Regions from separate parts of the Homo sapiens genome. Here region 1 is linked to region 2. The links are contacts of gene promoters, found by promoter capture Hi-C in blood cells and fetal thymus (Javierre and others, 2016). All regions are on one chromosome and are shown on one strand. Each heading gives the region's core, a stretch centred on a gene start or on the middle of the fragment in contact. The rest is flanking DNA. Distances are from core to core; before and after follow the strand shown.

Region 1 (4,039 bases), core at 923-3,422, 1.0 Mb before region 2:
CTAAAATGGCATCACAGCAGCCTTTCTCCCACTCCCACTTTCAAAAGAAATCAGGTTGATGGATAAAATGCTCTCAATGTGAAACTTTTCTCTCATGATTCTTCCACTGCTACCTGCCTGTGAAAAAGTAATTAAAGAGTAGTAACAAACTGGAAGGAGTCAATCATGCCCAGATTGACAGTTGTTCTGTTGGCTACATATGCAGTATGGTTTTACATTGCTCATCATAGTTCTATCTTCTGTCTGGACACATATTCCGCATTTGTAGAGGAGAATTATAAAGCTACTAAAGTTGTTCCACAGAGCAGATCCTGATTTCCTGTGTTCTACCACCTGAGAACAACAGGGACCCAGGAACTAACGTATGAGTGATAATGTCCAAATTCTTCCAGGAATATTTATTTATTTGAGACGGAGTCTTGCTCTGACGTCCATGCTGGAGTACAGTGGTGCGATCTTGGCTCATTGCAAACTCCACCTCCTGGATTCAAGCAATTGGCCTGCCTCAGCCTCCTGAGTAGCTGGGATTACAGGTGTGCACCACCACGCCCAACTAATTTTGTATTTTTAGTAGTGACAGGGTTTCACCATGTTGGCCAGGCTGGCCTCGAACTCCTGACCTCAAATGATCCACCCGCCTTGGCCTCCCGGAGTTGCTGGGATTACAGGTGAGAGCCACTGCGCCTGGCCAATATTTATTTTTTTAATTAAAAAATAATTTTCTTCTTCAGCACTCGAAGAGAGACAGCAGTATTTATTTTTGAAGTGACTCACAGGAGAAGACAATATTTAATCCAAGGAATGAAACAAGAATGCCAAATTATTTTTGTTCACAGGAGTCTTGAATCGCATCAAAGTTAGTCCTAGCTAGATTGTTAATTACAAATGAGCCGAGGGAGATTAAAAACAGACAAACCAATCAACCAACCAAACAAGCAGAAGTAGCCAAGAAAGGTAAGACATTTTATTTTACATACAAAAAGGGTGCAAACTGAGTCCTTTCCTCCCCAAACTGGGGAAGAGGTATACTTAAAGATCACATTTGTGTTTTCCATGGTGCCCTAGGAAATGGGCTACTCTGAGATCACATATCAGAACCCATTTTCCATTTTCTCCAAAGAAGGCTACTTCCTCTGCAGAGAAGATTTTCCTAATGGTGCACAAATATCTCTCCTGGAGGAACCATTTCAAATACACTTGAAATTGACATTCATGTTTAAAAATACTACAAATTTCATTTTCACAGCTGAGCTTTGTGACCAGTGCCAGGGTTTATGAAACATTATACATCTAAAAAAAAAAAAAGTAAAAAAAGAGGCATTTAACAATAATCAGACACATCCACACATTAAAACTGATTTCCACTGCTGATTTATACATTATCTAGTTGTTTAAAAATCGCAATCAACATCCCAACATCTTTTTAAGAGTACAATGGGCAAAGATCAAAGACAGATAAATAATAATATAATAAATTAGAGCATGTAATACATCCTATGGGAATTGCTGAATCAACATTATTTTCCATTGGGGGGTATATATTTTTGGTTTATCTTTATCTTTTCTGCTGTTATTTTTTTTCTCTGCTTGATAAAATGGGGCTCATTCCTAAAGCCAGCTTGCTGAGACACTAATTTCAGAAGCTCACTTGTCACTTGTTTAACCTCTGAGAATACTCAGGAACACATGGTTCCCAGCAGCTTGGGCTGGGTCTTTATGGAAGTGAAATGCACATAGATGAACACACGCACTCACGTGCGCACACACACCACACACACACACAGACACGCAGTCACACACTTCCATCTGTAAATATATTTCTCCCCAAAGAAATGGCTCATCTTTCCTGAGACATTCCTAATAGACTGATAAGCCTTCTAAAAAAGGCTTTTGGTGCAAGGGCTGGCCTGGGATTTGGTCTGGAGCTCATGAACTGAAAATGTCTCACCTGTACTGAAAGAGGGGTGGGTGGGGACATTCAGAACAGCTGTCCTCTTGTGGGTGTTACTGGAATGGCTGCACCACACCCCCACTTATTACCATGAATAATCCTCTGCTCTGAGACCTTATAGATGGTGATGGCACTGGGAAAGTGATTGTGAGGAGTAAAAGAAGAAAAATAAAAGAAATTCTGTCTACAGAACGGAGGTTTCTTTGTAACATCAGGTTTGGTAATCAAACTAGAAATACAAGGAATACGTGTTCACTTTTTCCCTTGAAAGGTGATTTACAAATACCGGAAGTGGGTTTTCTGGTTGTGTTTTGAGAAAATATGTCAACTACCACTGTGTATTATCCAGGGAACCTACTCACTATTTTGAATACAATGAGAAAACTATTTTTTTGTACTTAGTCACCTGCAAAAGGAGTTAGGAAAAACATTTTTAAGACTGCTTGCTGGACAAAAGACTTTCAAGATTCCTTACTTGTGGCTAAAACATTGCTCAAAAAGGATAAACCCACATAAGGGCCATGGTTGCCTCTTCTTTTTCTTATTCAGAAACAAAATCACCCCCCATACACCAAAAAACAAACTGAAAACCAAAAACAACAACAAAAAAACAAAACCCAAAGCCAAAGGAATCCCAATTTGATTCCTATCAACCCCTCATGGGAAAGACTAGGAGTCTCTGCCATCGACCTCTAGACAGGACTTCCCTGGAGTCTGCAAAAGCAAGAACCCGAGAGATAAGTGCCTGTCACTTACGTGGCCAATTCAGATGGGTTGCCTAATTATCCTGGCTCCCTGAGGGTTTCTGGAATTCATCTGCCCACCATAGGGCAATGGTGGGGATGGTGGCAGTGGCGTGGCAAAGGCAATGTTGGCTGTATGGTGTTGCAGGCTCCCAATCTGAGAAACGAACCTTAATATGGTTCTGACACTGGAGACAATGTTGTTAGGGCAACTCAATGGGAATGGAGAGCTGGTTTAAATGTGAAATGGAAGAGGTGGCTGGAACACAGGAGGCATGTGGGCTTGGGAGATGCATCAAACGAAAGTTCCTCTGAGAAGACGTTTTCTTGGCTGCCATGGAAGTTCTCATTTTTGAGAAATGCAAGCCATGCTTGCTCACTGGGAGGAGGAATGGATTTTATCTTTTACATAAAAAAGTTAAGGCTATAATCTTTAGTAACCACTTTGACGTTACATTATCATTGTTACATATTTCTGGCATTAAAAGTGGTTACTAGCACTGAAAATCAACACTGAATATGCACTACCAGCATATCTTCCCACTGAACTAAGTTTGGAAATTACTTTAGGGGTGATGGTCACCTTTTCTGGCTGATGGACAGGGACTGTTTTCTAAGTACTTGGAGTTCATTTAGAAAAAAGAGACAATCAACATGTCTAGAAACCTCAGGATCTCTGCTGTCATCTGTAGCTCATGCATTCCAATATAAAATGGGATTTTAACTGGAAGCTAATCTTGTACCTTCCTAGACCCTGTTTATTGCTGGACAGGCTCCATAATAGCAGAAGAATGTTAATTAAGGCAGTCATGAGTGCACACTGGCTGTCAGGATACTCTATCCACCCTTGGGGGCAGTCTGGAGTGAGATCTCTGGAAAGCACCAAGGTGCGTAGAGCAACTTGACCAACTCTTACTGCAGAGACACAAGTGATACCCTGGTCAAAAGGGAGTAGGGGGGACCATTTATGCCTTGGTGGAGTCTTGGCCTGTGTGCCTCAAATCTGTTTAGGATGCAATGTCTGAGGGACTGTAGAGCTTGGGAAAACTCCTAATGTATACTATTAAGGGTTTTTATGAATAGATGCTGAGTTAGCTTTCAGGAAAAACAACTGCATCAATCCTAAAGAAAAAGATCGTTAGGCACCATACTTGTGAAATGGAGAAAGCTCAGAAACTACAGAGCAAGTGGATGGGTGGGGACAGTCAGCGAGTGCATGCCCTAACCCCAAGGATCTGGCTGAGGCATACAGCTAAGGAACTGTAGCAGTAGGGTTGAGGAGGGAGCCCTGATTCGCTGATGGGCCTGAAACAAATGGCCAATTGCATCTAGGGTACTCAGGTTT
Region 2 (3,990 bases), core at 204-2,703:
AAATGGATTAAAATATGTCACTTTAAAGTGTTTGCAAATCGAATTCCTGGAATCGGGACATCTACTGGTTGAGGCTTAACATCGATTTAGGATTAAATTTACTCCCTTACATTTATATATCATTTTACAAAATGCTTCTGCCCACGTTACCTCATTCAATCCTTCCTTCTGTAGTAAAGAAACTGGAAGATATATTTAGTAAACAATAAGGATTTTATAATTGGCTTAGAAGTTAGATAAAAGGGGCCTTTTTAAAAATCCATCCAAGGGTCATAAACCGATAAGCCAAAATAAAACGAATTTGTCTAGAAGTCAGTCATTATAACAGGATCTAGCCTCGTGGTCTGACTTCCACAGATTTGAGGAAGAGAAAAAAAGTTTATTTTCCAGACTCTCTTGGCTGGGGCGCCATTCTTTCACAGCTTCAGATAAACAGAAAGAAAAGGTAAACAACATGCGCCACTCTTAGGAAACTACCTCCCGGTCAAGTTGGGAAAGCCAGCAAAGGACTGCTGAAACACCCAAGTACTTCCGAACCAACTCCTGCGGGACTTCTCCCCATCTCTCCCGCCGCTGTCCTGCGGGCCCCGGGGCTTGCCTGACGCCGGGAAGTATTGTGAACCTTGTTTATGTCCCAGTGTCAGGGCCGCACAGTGATAGTAACATCTCGGGTATCGCGCGGCTTGCGTCCGGGACGGCCAGCTGGGTGCCCCGAGTCCTGGGGGACCCTAGTAGGGACAGATCCTCAGCCGAGCCCCTCCTGGAGCCCCCAACGGGCCCGAGGGGGATCCCGGCCAGGCTGCGGAAGAAGAGCCGCAGCCATGGCAGGCGGCGGTCCCCGGCAGGGCTGAGTGGGATCTGGAGACATTTTTTAATAACAGGAGCATTTTGTGCCTTTCAGGGTTTCTACAAAGTGGCCGCATTCCGGCCCCAAAGTCAGCAGGCCTGAAAGCGTGCAGGCAGGCGCGTGGGAAGGAGTTTACTTCCAATTTGAGCAACGGCTGCTCCAGAGGTTGGCAGAGCCCCATTCCACGGGGAAAGTGGTGGGTGCCGGGCGAAGCGCCGCGCATTCCCTCACACTCCCCGGGTGCAGCAGGCCTCGTGCCCTCCCCGGGGCCCCCAACCATTGGCCAGTCCACCCCCCCCCCGACAGGCTGAGGGCTCAGGAGTGGCACTATTTCGTTACCTCTCTGCGCGGAGGCGAGTGAGGAGGTGATGAGCCGGACGGCCGCCGCGCCGCAAGTACAAGCACCGCAGCTGGGCATCTCCGCGAGGCCTAGGCCGGGGCTTCGCCCCCTGAGGACCTCCGGGTCACAGCGGCGTGAATCCTGCCCGCAAGGCGCGCTGACTCGGTTCCGAACCCTTTCGCGGGCCCTAGACCCCGTGGAGAGTTCACCTGCCCGGCAGCCAGGCCTTCACGCTTCTCTGCCCCACAGCCGTCTATTCACCAGAGTAGACACCCAACCCCCCCCTCCCTTCCCCTCCTTCTCCTTCTACCCCCACCCCCAGCCTACTGGGCCCGGGGAGCTTGCGCGCGCCTGCGCCCTAGGCCCGGGGAGGGGGCGGAGGGCGTGGGCACGCGCCGTGTTTGCGAGCTGGTGAAGCTACGTGAGGCGAAGGCGAGGGGGTGGTGCCCTGGGCGCCAATGAGTTCCCTACGGCAAGCGTCTAGCCCCAACTGGGGCGACTACAGGTCCCGACGCTCAAGGTTGCCAAAAGCCCTTTTATCCTAAAGTTGAAAGGTTTTGCGATAGACGCGGAGAGATGCATGCCGGGACTTGTAGTCCCGAGTCGTCATAGTCGAGCTCTTCCGGTCACTTTTAGTGGGCGGCAGGGAAGGTCAAGGTGAGGCTGGTGGCTTAACCCTCCAGGGGGAAGTCTCTAAAGTGCCTTGGTAGGCGCTGGATGCTTCAGATTCACTAAATTTCTTCCCCCGGAATTCCACATCCTGTGTTCCTTATCTTCTCATTCTCCTTAGTTTCATCACTTGTAACATGGAGTTGGTATTGTCAGTTAGTTCCCTGAGCAGCAATTGTTAGTTGGTAACAGCTCCGTCTCCTTGTTCTTTCAGGCCTCGTGGTGATAAAGCTTCTAGCTGTTGCTAGTCCGTGGGTGCTTTAAAGTCTTGAGGGTTTTCTTTTCTTTCTTTCTTTTTTTTAATTTAGTAAAGATGAGGTCTCCCTATGTTGCCCAGGCTGGTCTCAAACTCCTGGGCTCAAGTGATCCTCTCGCCTCGCCCTCCCAAAGTGCTGGGATTACAGGCGTGAGCCACCGCACCCGGCCGTGATTAAGGATGGCACTGCATAGATAACCTCTGGTCAGGTTCCTATCAGGCCATCCTCTCAAGTTATGAATTCAAAAGCACAGAGCCGGCTGGGCGTGGTGGCTCACACCTGTAATCCCAGCACTTTGGGAGGCCGAGGCAGGTGGATCACGAGGTCAGGAGTTTGCGACCAGCCTGACCCACATGGTGAAACCCCATCTCTACTAAAAATACAAAAATTAGGTAGGTGTGGTGGCGTACTCCTGTAATCCCAGCTACTCAGGAGGCTGAGGTGGGAGAATTGCTTGAACCCAGGAGGCGAAGGTTGCAGTGAGCCGATATCGTGCCATTGCACTCCAGCCTGGGCGACAGAGCGAGACTCCGTCTCAAAAAAAAAAAAAAAAAACCCAGAGCCATCTGAGATTATCCCTGTGAGAAAATGGATCCTTCACCAGGAAAGTGATGGCAAATACTTGTGGTCACATCAGCCCTTCCACATCACACCTACTTTCAGCTGTTTTCTGACAGATTAATGACGCTTTAAAAAGAAAGTCAAGTGCAGTTTTCCAGCTCAAATAGTTTACACTGGAGGAGTTAACTCCTTGAGTTATTTACTTTTTGCGAACTACATAGCTGAAGGCACATAACTTTTTTTTTGAGACAGAGTCTCCATCTGTCACCCAGGCTGAAGTGCAGTGGCACCATCTCAGCTCACTGCAACCTCTGCCTCCTGGGTTCAAGTGATTCTCCTGCCTCAGCCTCCTGAGTAGCTGGGATTACAGGCATGCGTCACCATGCCCGGTTAATTTTTGTATTTTTAGTAGAGGCAGAGTTTCACTATGTTGGCCGTGTTAGTTTCAAACCCCTGACCTCAAGTGATCCGCCTGCCTCAGCCTCCCAAAGTGCTGGGATTACAGGCATGAGCCATTGCACCCAGTCAGGCACATAACTTTTTATGTCTTCATTTTATGTAAAACTTTTTCTTTTGTCTTTTTTTTTTTTTTTTTTTTGAGATGGAGTCTCACTCTGTGGCCAGGCTGGAGCGCAGTGGTGCGATCCTGGCTCACTGTAACCTCTGGCTCCTCGGTTCAAGCGATTCTCCTACCTCAGCCTCCTGAGTAGCTGGGACTACAGGCGCACACCACCACGCCCAGCTAGTTTTTGTATTTTTAGTAGAGACGGGGTTTCACCATGTTGGCCAGGATGGTTTTGATCTATTGACCTCATGATCCGCCTGCCTTGGCCTCCCAAAGTGTTGGGATTACAGGTGTGAGCCACCATGCAGGCCCTCTTTTTCTTTTATACTTGATTTTACCTCCCAGCATTATGAGTTGCTATAAGAAATATTTTAATAAATTAGAGTCCATGAGTCTTAACTCACTCAATATTAACCCTGATTTTTTTAGATGAGGAAACAGGCCTATTGAAAAGGCAGATACTTGACCAGGGTCACATAACAAGTGAAAAACAGAGAATAGAGCTGGAGTCTTCTGGCTTTAAAACTGTATTTCTCAAGCTTTTCTTTTTTAACCCAAGACTCTTTTCGATAAACATAAAAATCTCACTTCTCGGCCAGGCGCAGTTTCTCACGCCTGTAATCCCAGCACTTTGGGAGGCCAAGGCAGGTGGATCACCTGAGGTCAGGAGTTCCAGACTGGCCTGGCCAACATGGTGAAACCCCGTCTCTACTAAAAATACAAAAATTAGCCGGGTGTGGTGGCGCACGCC

The links. Contacts are between HindIII fragments. The CHiCAGO score rates a contact against its expected background, and 5 or more counts as called.
Region 1: a fragment that was not itself captured here is called in contact with the fragment with the promoter of CLPX in region 2 in 1 of 17 cell types (fetal thymus); the score reaches 9.3 in fetal thymus.

What each region holds. Positions count from the first base shown.
Region 1 is chr15:64,164,791-64,168,829 of GRCh38, forward strand. CSNK1G1 (casein kinase 1 gamma 1) reads right to left here. Exons shown (of 12, transcript NM_022048.5): 12 at 735-4,039. Among named protein-coding and RNA genes, the nearest start is that of PPIB, 3.8 kb to the left of the region's middle. The HindIII fragment of the contact is 7,083 bases long and covers 1-4,039 here.
Region 2 is chr15:65,183,889-65,187,878 of GRCh38, forward strand. It overlaps CLPX (caseinolytic mitochondrial matrix peptidase chaperone subunit X), which reads right to left and starts at 1,454. Exons shown (of 14, transcript NM_006660.5): 1 at 1,187-1,454. The coding sequence starts at 1,265. RefSeq lists an enhancer at 1,087-1,971 and a silencer at 1,393-1,702. The HindIII fragment of the contact is 3,137 bases long and covers 1-2,085 here.